Regions from separate parts of the Homo sapiens genome. Here all the other regions are linked to region 1. Evidence: promoter capture Hi-C in 16 types of primary human blood cells and fetal thymus (Javierre and others, 2016). All regions are on one chromosome and are shown on one strand. Each heading gives the region's core, a stretch centred on a gene start or on the middle of the fragment in contact. The rest is flanking DNA. Distances are from core to core; before and after follow the strand shown. Region 1 holds the start of FKBP15 (FKBP prolyl isomerase family member 15). Region 2 holds the start of TUT7 (terminal uridylyl transferase 7). Region 3 holds the start of AGTPBP1 (ATP/GTP binding carboxypeptidase 1).

Region 1 (4,266 bases), core at 1,405-3,904:
CTAAGTCTGCTTTCAGTGACTGAGTGAACGGAATGTTATAGATCCCCTAGAACCTGCATTTAATTCATATTCCTATCATTATGCCTGATATAACTTGGTTATAACTTTAAACTACTAATTTTAAAATGCATGCATCATTACAGATTAGTATGGGTATACTCGTATATAAAGACTGTCATCTCTGTTGCAAAATTGCTGATAATTTGAAAATAATTATTAAAATTGCTGCTTCCCTGAGGGAGTAAGGGGAGTGGAGGGTGGAGAAAAAAAATTGCTGCTTCCTGGCCAATCTTCTGGGGGTTGACAATATATTTTATGAGTATTCTAAAAGTTGTATACTTAAGCAAAACAAATAAACAAAAATGCTTACTTTAAACTTGAGATCAAGGTTGTGCCTTACTTACCTTTGTATCCCCAGCAGTTACTCAGTAGAAGTCCAGGTCTAATCCACTCATTTTACAGTGCTTAGGGAGCCTGGCCCAAACTCAGAGTGAGTTATAAGGGCTGGGACAGGAATTCAGATTTCCTGATTCCTAGTCCAGTATTACCAATCTGAAGATACACGAATTTAGGAAGACAGTGGCTTTCTTTTTTTTTTTTTTTAGGTGCACCCAGTCCTGCAGTTCAAAGCCTGGCAAGACTCACCATCATCTTCCTCCTCCTCATACTGCTAATGAGAATCAGCAGCTGTGTTTCTACAGTGATAATCTGCGTATGCATGTTCGTGATGTTCCAATCACCAAAAAGGCTATTGATTTTAGGATTCCTGAGTACCTACAAAAGCTACTTAAACATCCAGGATAAAATCAGCTCCACCCAAGAATACAAGATAAGAGTTCAAATATTCCCTTGGCCATTTTTTTTTTTTAAAGAAAAGGCTGGAAGGACATGTCATAAACACCTAGAAAGATTCTGCAGTGAGACTGCTTTGCAAGTGACTTTAAGTATTCATTCCATGTTAAAAATACCATAGATAATGTAAGCCAGGGGCTAGCAAGCTCTTTCTGTTAAACATTTAGATGTTTCAGTGCTGCAATCACAGTGACCGGTGTTGGGGAGAGGGATTAGAAAGTGCCATGGTACTTAATCCAGTTACTCCCCCAACACCTCCAAGAGGTAGCCAAGTTCACACACTAAACAGAGCTACTGCAACAGTTCTAGTGCTAGTCCTTAGATTCTAGTTCCAGTTCCGGTTCTAGTGCTTAGATTCCAGTTGCATCATTCCAACTGTGAGCCTTCGCTGCTTTAACATCTTTGCCAGGAGGTGCAAAGTTCTCTGGGAGGGAGCTACCAATCATTTCATTTCAATTTCATACTGACAGATTGAAACATTCACGTAAGGGACACCTGTAGTACCAACCTGACTGTGAGGGGAAGCCCAAGAACTCCAGTGAGTCTGTGGACGCTACGCTGGGACACTATCTCCTTAGCCACACCTTGTCTAAGCCAGGACTACCCCAGGATTGTTTCGAGAATGATACCAGGTTAACCAAAGAAATACTTATGTAAGATACAGATAGGGTGGAAACTGGAGGCAGAGGAGTCCGCCACAATTGATGTTGATTTAGGGCTGTCGCAGGAAGACCCAGGGAAACCCACGCCAAAGTTGGGGTGGGGATGTGTCTGCCTCCAAAGTATCCTCCTTTCCATCACCCACCGCCAGAATATCTTAGCTCTTCTGCACCTCATCCGCGTAGAATACAGGTGGACTCTAGAAAGGGGACTTTCCTCGAGGTGTATGCTACAGTCTTTCAATAGTCACTCTGTAAGGGCACACAGTGCTTAAGGGCTGATAAGGTTCTTGTTCACCCACTAGCTCACTATGTCCTGAATCAAAGGACGAGGAATCCAGTCTCAGTCTGCCCTTTACTCTTTGTGACCTCGGACTAGTCACCCGGGTGCTTAGTTCCTTCGTCTCCCTATCTGTAAATTCTGAGATTACGAGGAGGCCGGGATTGAAATCCATGGCCTCTGAGCTCTAAAATCTTCTGGACCAGCAGGCACATGGAAGAACTGGACAAATGGCCGGTTGCATACACGGGGAAACTGAGGCACCGAGCACCCCGGCCCAAGGTCACTCTGGCTATGCCACTGCAGGGGCCGGGCCGAAGCCCCAGTCTTTAACCCTCCAGTCCCGAGCTCTTTCTCCTTCCGCGGAGCTGAGGAAAGCGGCGAGGAAGGTCCTTGTCCCGCTGGGAAAAGGACGGTACCCATGCACAGGGGTGCGAAAGAGGGGCCGAGAGAAGCCTTACCTTTCCAGGTCAAGTCCAGCCACTAGCACCTCTCTCTCCGAATCTTAACCCGTCACCCCCTCACGACTCTTCGAACGGCCCCTCCACTTCTACCCGGCTCGACGTGTCCACCACCGCCACCGAGGCCGAGGATTTCCCGCCCCCTCCCGCCCCCTAGCATTACCGACCAATCCCTGCAAGGGGCTGTGAAGCTCCGCCCCGCTGCGGGCTGGAGAGGCCTGACGTCACTCGGCGCTCGTGCCCGCGCGAGCCTCTCATTTGCCTTTGCCCCACCTTCTCCAGAGCCCAGTCTACTTTCGGTCCAGAGACCGTGCTGGAGTTCGCCCTGCCGGAAAGCAGCACGCCGCCGCGGCATTTTACGACGTCGGCGGTGACAGGCCCTGGGACTCTGGGAATACCCAGCTTCCTCCCCGCAACCCGGTGAAAGCCAACGCAATGTTCGGTGCGGGGGACGAGGACGACACCGATTTCCTCTCGCCGAGCGGCGGGTGAGTGACTGAGAAGTATGCGCTGGAGGGCGTGGCTGAGAGATACCGGCGGATTGTTGGAGGGGGGTCGATCTCTTCTCAGGCCTTTTCCCAACTTCCGGGGGGAGACCCTTGCCACATTCCGGTGCTCTACACCTCTCAGAATCTGGGCAGAACTTGCAACTGTGCTGACCCTGCCGATCTGAGGTTCGGGACCCGGCATCTCTCTTGGCGGGAAGATAGCCCTGGGTTTGCCTTTTGCATTCTGGGTCACAATTTCTCCGGTGAAATGGGAATGATTGCTGATGAGACTTCCTGCCTCAGAATTTTTATAGGAGTCAGCTGGGGCTGATGTGAGACTTCTTTTCTCCATGGAGAAGGCGAAGACACTTTAGAACCAGGCCTTGGTGGGTCAGCTCTAGCATTCTTCAAGGCCCAGCTCGGATGTCACGTTTTGGATGCTTTTCCTTCTGCAACCTCAGGCAGAATGAATTGCTTTCTCTTCCTTATTCCTGCAGCTAGGTGTGTTTGCCTCTATTCTTATACCCCGCACCTATTAGATTATGAGTCCTCACCGGACAGGGACTGCTTATGGTGTTCATTTCTGTCTAGCATGCAGCATGGTACCTAGCACATAGTGAGTGCTCAGGAAGTGGCTGTTGAATGAATAATAGCTGCGAAATTGCACTTTGTAAAGCTTAAAGCTTAAAACCAACGTAACAGACTTCTGTCATTCTCCAGTTTCCCCAAGCATTATATTAATATATACCAGCCTGGAATAGAAATCTTTAAAGAGAGGAAGGGTTTTGTCTCTTTTAGTAGTCAGTTTAGCCTTTTCCATTGTGTTGTGCCAGTGGACAGCTTGACTTCCTCCAAACTTGTGAGCTACCAAGCTCTGATCATTGCAGAGCTTTTCTTTGAACATATGCTTAACAAATTTTGTGCGTGCTGAAGAATGTACTGGAAAAATGACAAATGCACCACATATGCCCCTTATTCTGCTAAATGCTAAGAGGTTACAAAAATGATTAAACTGCTGTGCCTGCCCTTAAGTTGCTTCCAGATCTGTTGGGCCATGTGGTTTCTATTGCAACCACAAATACTCAGTTCTGCCTTGTAGGGTGAGAGTAGTCATAGACAATACATAAACAAATGAGTTAATAGATGAATGACCATAAAATGACACTGGCCTTCTTTTGTCCTTAAGTAGGAATTTTTGATTTACACTGACTAGCTCTATATTACCTACCTTTTAGTCTTTTTCACTCTCACCACTCTGTTCCCTTCCTACCCCGTCTTTAGATGGCCTGCATTCACTTAGTTCCACTTTGAGTTCTTTCCGTTTCTCAGTTATTTTACAGTTAAGCTGTGCTTTTGTTCCTTTTTTCCCTATTCCACTTTAAATTCGCATTCTTCACTATGTGAAAGTATTTGGGAGAAGTCTGTAATGTTAGGGCTCCCAATTTTCATGCAACAATCAGTCCAAGCTGACTGAAAATTATGGGATAGGTAATGACAGCCATGTGCTCTTTTCCAGATTCCTGGCC
Region 2 (4,430 bases), core at 194-2,693, about 27 Mb after region 1:
TCTAAGTAAGGAATTATATAAAAGTTGTAGGAATGTGTTTTATATCACTTTTAGTATAGCCACATGGTTAATAACAGCCTCATATTCAGGGTCTGGATTGCAGCAGTGCCATTTACTTCACTGCAAGTGCTAAATGTCCTCATCTTTAAAAGTGGGATAATGATATAGTCTTCATGAAGCTGTGAGGATTAAAGAAGTTAAGGCTGGGTATGGTGGACCACCCCTGTAATCCCAACACTTTGGGAGGCCAAGTTGGGCGGATGGCTTGAGGTCAGGAATTGGAGAGCAGCCTGGGCAACATAGGAGACCCCTGTCTCTACAAAAATATAAAACAAAGGAGTTAATATTTGTAAAGCCTTCAAAACAGTTATTGGCATAGCCAGAACTTTGTGTGTTATTATTTTAAGACCATTGCTCCACAGGACCTGACAGCTTTCAATTTACATGCTTTAAAAAAGCAGAGAAATGAAAACTGTCGATTTTCCCAACGCTCCCTAATTTCACTAGTTGCTTGATGTTTTTCAAAGCATTTAGAACACTGTAAACAGCAAGGAAGGTCATACAGTAAAGAAAGAAAAAGCAACCCCGAGTTCGAGGTGTGCACTCTTCAACTCAAAAATTCGAATGTAACGCTCTCTGGTCATCCCTTGCCATTACACATATTCTTCGAAATGAACTGATTTTTTTTTTTTCCAAGTAAAAGTAATCCTTACACAACCTAAGAAAAAAGCAGAGCATTTTCCTTGACCACTTTGAGATCTGGGTGAGCAGTGGATGTTTAAATGCTGGCATTTCTACAAGGTCGGCAATTAAGAATTCACGAAAACATTAATCACTACGAATTATCAGAAAAACACCAAGAGCGCTACGAGGCCTCGGAGCCTTTACTCCCCCTGGAAGTAACCGGGGAGCACCCAGGGGCAAAGCCGAGGCCCCAAGCGCGGGGAATGCGGCTTTGCCCGACCGCTGGCTCCGCGTCCCTCTCCGGGTGCATAAGTCTTGGCTCCCGCGCCTCTCCCGAGCACTTAGCCTCCCGAGCAGAGAGGGGAACCAGAGGAGCGTCGAAGCCGGGAGAGAAAAGGGGCGGGCGCCGCTCTGGTAAGAAGTTCGGGCCTGGCCCCCAAGCGCCGGCGAACCGGCTATCCGGCGAGCCAGTAATTAGCCCGCTCCGACGGTTGCGCCCGGTGGCCAGACCCGGCGCCCGACACCTGGAGCGAGTGCGCTGGGGCGCCGGACAGGAGAGGCCAGGCTGGCAAAGGCGCGGGAGGCGGGGTCGGAGCGTGGGCGGGGCACCGCGGGGCGGGGCGCGTCGCTCGTTTCCGGTGTGCGCGGCGGAGCGCTAGGGCGGGGGCACAGTCGGCTCCCAATCGCGCACAATGAGACAGCGCTGAGCGCCGGAAGTGGGGCCGAAGGAAAACACGGAGAGGGAGCCCGGCCGGGACAGGAAGAGGCTGGGGACCGCGGCGAAGGTGGTGAGTGCTCTTGGGCGCCTTCTCCCAACGTCCCTGCCAGACTCGCCTCCGGGCTGATTCTCCAGTTGGTTTCCTGGACTCCAGAGTAGCTGTCCGGCCTGGCCCCGGAGGTACGTTGGTTCCATCCCCCGCCGGCCTCCTCGCACCAGTTTGGGTGACCGAGGAACCCCCAGGCCGGCAGAGGCTGAGCCCTCGGGTTCGAGTCCGTGTTTTCACTTTTTGTCAGACTGCGGGCGCAGAAGACGGGATTTGGGTCAAGACATTCGGCTCTGGCCCCCTGGCCGGCCGGGGGAACCCTGGAACCCCATGGAGACAGCAGGTCACTTCCTGCTTCCTGGTCCCCACGGTGGCTTCTTGGCCAGGAGTGCAGGGACGCCTCCTCTTTCTCCACGTCGGGCTCAAAAGGGTGGAAACTAAGGCAGATCGGTGGTGGAGCGGTCAGATGGGGATTGAAGAGGAGTGTCATTCCTCAGGGAATTGCTGTTCCTGACAAAACCAAACTTGTTTGGGGTTGGAGAACGGGGATTGAGGAGGTTAGATGGAGTTGTCCCTTGATCGGAAACCCAGCCTCTTTAATTACAGCTGCACCTTGGTCGGAAGCCCAGCCCCTCCGTAACCTAAGCGCTCAAAGCCGGTCTGTCCAGAATAGGGGTGGTGAAGGGACGGAAAATTGGAGTTGAGAAATGTAGTACTCCTTTCACGTAAAGTTTCGGTGTATAACACTTACAAGTAATTGCCAACTTAAAAAACAAAAGACTGTTTCGGTAGTTTAGTAATAATATTGGCTTGGGATGAGGTTTTCTTTGAAGAGAAACGCCTTGTTACAGAGGGAAAAGCCGACCATACTTGATATGAGTAATATTCTACTATGCTACAGTTCTGGAACCTATAGAGCTTCTCTTATTCACACATTTAATCTTCATGCTAAATAGTAAGTATTAATTTTCATGAAGAATATTAGAGGACCAAGCCTCCCAACCTCTAGGGTAAAGCACTGATTATTAAGAATGTGATAGAATTTTTATTTTAAAAAAATAGGGAGTTTCTTTCTTACAGGCTTTGGGGCATCTGTACGATAAATTGTTATTTTGTATACTTGTATGATATCTTGTTATATAGTTTGATATTTCCCCAAAATACCTTCTTTCAGGTGCAAAGTAAGAAAATTGAAGTCAAAGACCATGGGAGATACAGCAAAACCTTATTTCGTGAAGCGCACTAAAGACCGGGGGACTATGGATGATGATGACTTCAGAAGGGGTCACCCCCAACAAGATTATTTAATAATAGATGACCATGCTAAAGGCCATGGCAGTAAAATGGAAAAGGGCCTTCAAAAAAAGAAGATAACACCAGGGAACTATGGGAATACCCCCAGAAAAGGACCATGTGCTGTTTCCAGCAATCCATATGCATTTAAAAACCCAATCTACAGTCAACCCGCTTGGATGAATGACAGCCACAAAGATCAGAGTAAGAGATGGCTGTCTGATGAACATACTGGTAATTCAGACAACTGGAGAGAATTCAAACCTGGACCTAGAATTCCTGTTATAAACCGACAAAGAAAAGACTCCTTTCAAGAAAATGAAGATGGTTATAGGTGGCAAGACACAAGAGGCTGCAGAACTGTAAGACGACTGTTTCATAAAGACCTAACAAGCCTAGAAACCACGTCAGAAATGGAAGCAGGAAGTCCTGGTAATGTTTTCCAACTTGTCAGATCACAACCCCAGAGTCAGCAATGTTTTATTCTTTTTCATCCAAATGAGTTTTGTTATTTTCAGCAATTTAGTTTCAGTTTTTCACAGTTTCTGTTTTAAGAAATGGTCACTTAGTGTGATTATTTTAAGGATAGTAATCATGATATTTGAGCAGCTAAAACACATTTCATATGTTGATCCCTTTAAAAGTTTACTTTGCCCCAGGGCTCACTTTACGTCAGTAAACATGTTTTCTGTAACGTGTTTTTTACAGAAGAGGGTAGCTATATGCTCCAGGGGACCATATCGTAATTGCTCAGTGGTTTGTGTGTTTTCAAAATTGTGATTATAATTTTGTATTTGAATAATTAATGTGTTCATAATATAAATGACAGAATATAAAGCTTTTTTTAAAAAAAAAACTTATTTGTTGATGTAAAAACACAGTATACACTGCGTATATCTCCTGCCACAAGAGATATATCTTTTGGATGTAGTGTCAGTGTCCCGAGATGGATAATCTGAGATCTTTGTTTTTCAAAAGGGATCGTGACAAACAGGTTGAGAAACAAGTTTAGAAAGTCAGAAATAGATTCAAGCTTTGCTGTTTGGTTTCAGTAAGACCAAAACTAATTTCTCGGTGCCCTCACATGCTTGGTTAATTGCCCCAAAGGGATAATAAGGAGATAATATGTTTTTCTAAAAGTAAAAAGTAGATTTTATCCATGTGGCAACGATTTCTGCAAACAGGAAGGTTATTTTTATCTAATGGGAGATATATACCGAAATGAAATAAAGTCACAAATTGGATGGAAAAAATGAAACAATATCACAGTTGGAAACATGGACTTGTAAGTTTAGTGGCTGAAAGCGTTTTTTAGTGGTTGTATAGAATGTGTTTCAAACTGGCCAGCACTTTTAAATAAATTTTTTTAGTTTAAATGCATTCAGGGAATATGGACACTTTCTAGATCACCCGATGCCTTTTCTCTTCATGTTATCTCACAGTGGCCAGTTCATACACTGGTTACCTATAAGGTGTTTGAATTTGTGTCCCATGCGTATAGAATACTTAAAAGCCAAAAGGTCGTCTTTTATCTTTACAAGGTCTTAGGATAAAAATGAAAGTCTCAAGCACTTATTAATATTAAATGGGGGGAAATGTGCTACTTGATTTTTTTTCTTTTTTCACAGATACTTCTAGTTGTCAGATCTGTTTATTTATATTTTATTTTATTTTTTGAGACGGAGTCTC
Region 3 (4,528 bases), core at 367-2,866, about 27 Mb after region 1:
CACATTAGCTAGGAGAGGTGAAGTTTATTTCAACTTCATACACGTGGGATCTGATGAAGAGTGATGTCACATTCCCAGGGGGTGGGGGAGTAGCTCTAAGTTCTTAATTACCGCAAAACATAAATCACTCACTCTTGTGGCAAACTATGTGATTGGAATCATTTCAAAGCTATGTAATGCTGCTATTTATCTTGTGTGGGTTAATCTCCTGGGTCTGTGTTGTGGTCATCAAACTATGCTAACAGTGCTTGTGAAAGTGGGATTCAAATTCCACAAACACACACATCCACATAATATCTTCCTATATTGCAGGTTGACTCATTTAGAAACATGTTCTTTAAGAAAAGTTTCAGGTATATTACATACATATTTAGCATTATTGTAAAATTATTACATTATTATTGGGTATTTTCAGATAATACGTTTCTGATTGGGTGGTTTGGGGTGGTGGTTGTTTCAAAATTATTTTAAATACCGTAACCTATCTTTTAGTGCTCACGATGAGGGAAACTACGATGTTTATAAAATGGCAGTTTCTTGTTCATCTGAATAAAGACATCTACCAAGGGCAAACTGTAAGAAGCACTGTGGTGTACCTTGGGTTACTTTTTGAATTGCTTTCACACCTGCTTAATTTTATTTGAACAAGATCATAAAACAAAACAAAAATCTCACAGTTCTCAATGCATTCCCTTATCTAGTTGTGATATTACATTCCTTACCATAAACAGTAGCAAACATGTTCTTGTGCAACGTGAAAAAGTAAATGATGTCAGTATTTATTTGCAATACATTGCAGTACACTGAAGTACAGTCAAAACAGAAGGGGGTGTATTAGTAATTTCTCTGACACATTACTTTGGCTCAGATAAAACATTCCGCCTTTGCCTTCAGTAGCCAACTTAGCATTACCGTTTTGATTATATGCAGGCACTTTTTCAAAAAACAGTAAATCAGCATGCTATTTTGTTCGCTGCAGCACTAGGCATCTAATTTACTGAGATTTGGCCACAAGGTGCAATCCTGTTGTTTTCTGGGAGCCCGATTGTAGTAACAGCATGTCCCTTCCAGCCTCTTATTATGGACCCTCCTTGAGGTCAGGAAAGGTCTAAGCTTTACCGCAGTCCCCAGCGTTTGATGCGACCCCGGGATCACGTGGGGAGCTTTAAGAACCCTTCCTAAGAAAGTGACTGATTGATGGCGGGGGAGGGGGTGGGCGCGGGCTTAGTTCCGGGAAAAGGCTGGGGCCCTCGTTGGGAGTGTACAGAAAGATGACTTGAAGAACGTGGGGAGTCGCTCGCAGTTCGGTACGGAGGGGCGGTGGCCGGGGCTGCTGGGTACAAGGGACCGGCAGCGCGCGGAACACCCGCCCCTAATTCCCGCTCCCGTGCGCGCTCCGCCCCCACGCGCGCGCTCCCTCCCGTCAGGCGCGCAGAGAGGCGGGGCGCAGCGCGCACGGAGGTAACAAGGGACGCGGCGGGAAGAGGGCGTGCGCTCCGCCCCGCCCCTTTCGCGGCCTCGCACGCCCCGCCCCCACTCCCTGCGCGTGCTGGGAGCCGGCTGGCAAGGCGTGCGGTGGGCGGGGCGCCGCGCTGACGTTGCCCGGGATGCGGACAGGTTCCGCCGCCTCCAGCGCCGCCGCCGCAGCTGCCGCCGCCGCCGCCTCCGCCTCGCCTGCCACCGGGGTTTGTATGAAAACACCGGGCGGCGGGCGGCGAGGGATCCGCCGTGATCCAGGTGCTGAGCCGGGTGCTGCGGCTCTGCGCGGTCCCCGCCAGCGCCCCATCCTGAGCCGGTGAGCGCCCTGCTGCAGTCCTCATGTCCCGGCCGGCCGTCCCTCTGCTCTCCCCGGGCCGCGGGAGATGCGAGCGACGGCGCCCGGGGGTAGGAGGGGCGACCCCGGATCCCTGCGCCCCTTACCTGACGGGTTGTGTAACGCATGTTACACATGTGACGCGTGAGGGGAACGCACTCGGTCTTGAGGGAAAGCCCTGACGGGGTGGGGCTTTGACTGGGTCTGGAAAACGCCTTCCCCAGTCCCCGGACCCTCGGTGGATCCCCGTCCCAGACCTTGCGGAGGGTATCGGGCGCGGTCTCTGGGCGGAGGCCGCCCTTTCTGCTCAGCCCTTTCTCTCGGGCCCGAGCTCGCGGCGCCGCGGGGAGTCCAGCCGAGGGGCTGCAGGGCCGGGGGCGGGCGCGCCCAGCCCCGCTCTCCCCCGCCCCAGTGGTAGCGGGCCGCTGAATCGCGGGCCCCTGTGCTTCGAGAATTCTAGCGTTCCCGACTGAGCGCCAGCAAGGTGGGATTTGCTGTGACATCGGCGATGGGCACGTTTGCTTCCTCTCGCTGGGTGGTTTGAGCTGAAGTGTGTCTTCTGTTTACAACTTGTCGCCTTGAGCGTTTGGTTTGAACCTGAATCAGATCACCCTGGATGACAGTGCAGAGTTTCCTTAGTGTCTTCCTTCCTGAATTGCGGGTTCTCAATTGCAAGTGTTCAAGGACTGTTGTAACCCAAAGGCTTGCTCGACTCTACCGTTGTTTTACCCCTTGTGCGGTATAAACCTCTTACGAGCACCAGGGCAATTGGAGTTGGTTGGGTTCCTTTCTTGGGCGTTTACTCATTGTAGAATGGAGTTTTCATGCATCATAGTGTAATCGATGTGAATGTTGATAATTTAAAGCCCATTTCCCGTTTTAACATAGCTTACTCAAGTGCCTGAAGATAGCGGAAATTTTCTTTGGCAGTATTAATTCTATGTGGGTTTTTTCCTTCAGGTGTTTAACATTGTAGTTGTGTTTAATTACAATGCATGACAATTTGTAGTTAGAAAGGACCTTAACAGTCTTCTTAATCGGTCATTTTCACTTACCTTTTATGTCCGTTTTTTAAGCTTTATGTAAATCAAATTATCCTTTGTGAACTTCTGAATTATTCTTATAAACTGGTTGTCTGAGAAAACCGGAAAGTTATTTTTGTAATTGTATTGTGGAATGTTTTTAGTTCAGTAGGCCAAAAAAGAAATGATTTATTTAAGGAACTTTAAATGGTGCTTATTTTAAAACATGTGCCAAATGTCAAAACCAAACAAAACTCTGAAAGATCTGTATTTCCTATGTAGAATTACTGCGAAATAATAAGTCGTGCCTTACCCACTGTTTCTCATCATGCAGGCAGAGTTCTAATATGACTTGCTCTTTTTCCCATTCCACTTCTCTTAAGTTAAATTCTATGGTGAAGTTACAGGTTCATTTTTAATGATCACAAAACTCTGCCTTGAATTGATTAATCACATAATTACAACTGCAGACTCACTCTGAACTCGGAAATGAAGTGGATAGGCTTAAAACTACCCTCGTATTTGGCCAACATTGCAAAGCATTTAAATCTATTAATTAAACTTTTGTAGAAGCAATTTTTATAAAGCTTTTCCGAATTGAGGCATTCTTCTCTTTAGAAAAGTCTGGCTAGGCTGCTATATAATAATGGTTTTACTTCCATTAGCAGAAGGAAAAGAGGTCCAACAGTTATGAAATTTTGTAATTTGTATTTTACTTTTTTTTTTTTTTTGAGACGGAGTCTCACTCTCTCGCCCAGGCTAGAGTGCCAGTGGTGCGATCTCGGCTCACTGCAACCTGCCCCTACCGGGTTCAAGCGATTCTCCCGCCTCAGCTTCTTGATTATAGGCGCGCGTCACCACGCCTAGCTAATTTTTGTGTTTTTAGTAGAGACGGGTTTCACCATGTTGGCCAGGCTGGTATCGAACTCCCAACCTCAGGTGATCCACTAGCCTCAGCTTCTTAAGGTGCAGGGATTACAGGCGTGAGCCACCAAGCTTGGCCTGAATTTTTTTTTTTTTTTTTTTGAGACGGAGTTTCGCTCTTGTCGCCCAGGCTGGAGTGCAGTGGCACGATCTTGGCTCACTACAGCCTCTGCCTCCCGGGTTCAAGCGATTCTCCTGCCTCAGCCTCCCGAATAGCTGGGATTACAGGAGCACACCACCACGCCCGGCTAAGTTTTTGTTTTTAGTAGAGACGGGGTTTCACCATGTTACCCAAGCTCGTCTTGAACTCCTGACCTCAGGTGGTCTGCCCACCTCGGCCTCCCAAAGTCCTGGGATTACAGGCGTCCGCCACCACGCCCGTCCTGGCCTGAATTTTTTTAAACCTCATCCAAAGTATTCATCTTCCCAAATCTGCTTTTCTTGCTTGAAGTCCCCCACTATCTGAAAGTTGAACAGTGCGTGAATAGCAATGGATGCACCTGTCAGAGGGCCATCTGCAAGATGGGAGCTTTCCTTAGGCAATGGGTTTCAGTATAAACAACATAAATTTTGTAGGGTGGGCACTGAATTTTAAACTTCAGATGTTATTGTTGATTACTGTGCCTGTGTACTATGGTGTAGTGGCTAAGGAGTTGGGCCTCAGAGCCAGATGGCTCGGTTTGGGTCCTGGCTTTGCTTTAGGCAAGTTATTTTTATTTTTATTTTTTTAAGACAAGTTATTTGTCCTTTTTGTACTTTAATTTTCTCA

Evidence for each region. The method cuts DNA at HindIII sites, captures the fragments that hold promoters and counts their contacts. A CHiCAGO score of 5 or more calls a contact.
Region 2: the fragment with the promoter of TUT7 here is called in contact with the fragment with the promoter of FKBP15 in region 1 in 1 of 17 cell types (non-activated CD4 T cells); the score reaches 5.0 in non-activated CD4 T cells.
Region 3: a contact is called between the fragment with the promoter of AGTPBP1 here and the fragment with the promoter of FKBP15 in region 1, in 1 of 17 cell types (non-activated CD4 T cells). The highest score is 12.9, in non-activated CD4 T cells.

The regions. Positions count from the first base shown.
Region 1 is chr9:113,219,665-113,223,930 of GRCh38, reverse strand. It overlaps FKBP15 (FKBP prolyl isomerase family member 15), which reads left to right and starts at 2,654. Exons shown (of 28, transcript NM_015258.2): 1 at 2,654-2,740. The coding sequence starts at 2,688. It overlaps SLC31A1 (solute carrier family 31 member 1), which reads right to left and starts at 2,387. Exons shown (of 5, transcript NM_001859.4): 1 at 2,253-2,387. RefSeq lists enhancers at 1,476-1,665, 2,506-2,615, 2,726-2,855. The HindIII fragment of the contact is 3,588 bases long and covers 1-3,418 here.
Region 2 is chr9:86,351,423-86,355,852 of GRCh38, reverse strand. TUT7 (terminal uridylyl transferase 7) reads left to right here and starts at 1,443. Exons shown (of 27, transcript NM_024617.4): 1 at 1,443-1,582; 2 at 2,623-3,173. The coding sequence starts at 2,654. RefSeq lists a silencer at 1,185-1,364 and an enhancer at 1,385-1,594. The HindIII fragment of the contact is 6,298 bases long and covers 1-3,581 here.
Region 3 is chr9:85,739,042-85,743,569 of GRCh38, reverse strand. AGTPBP1 (ATP/GTP binding carboxypeptidase 1) reads left to right here and starts at 1,616. Exons shown (of 26, transcript NM_001330701.2): 1 at 1,616-1,795. RefSeq lists silencers at 1,293-1,892, 1,963-2,282 and an enhancer at 2,453-2,602. The HindIII fragment of the contact is 1,776 bases long and covers 1,116-2,891 here.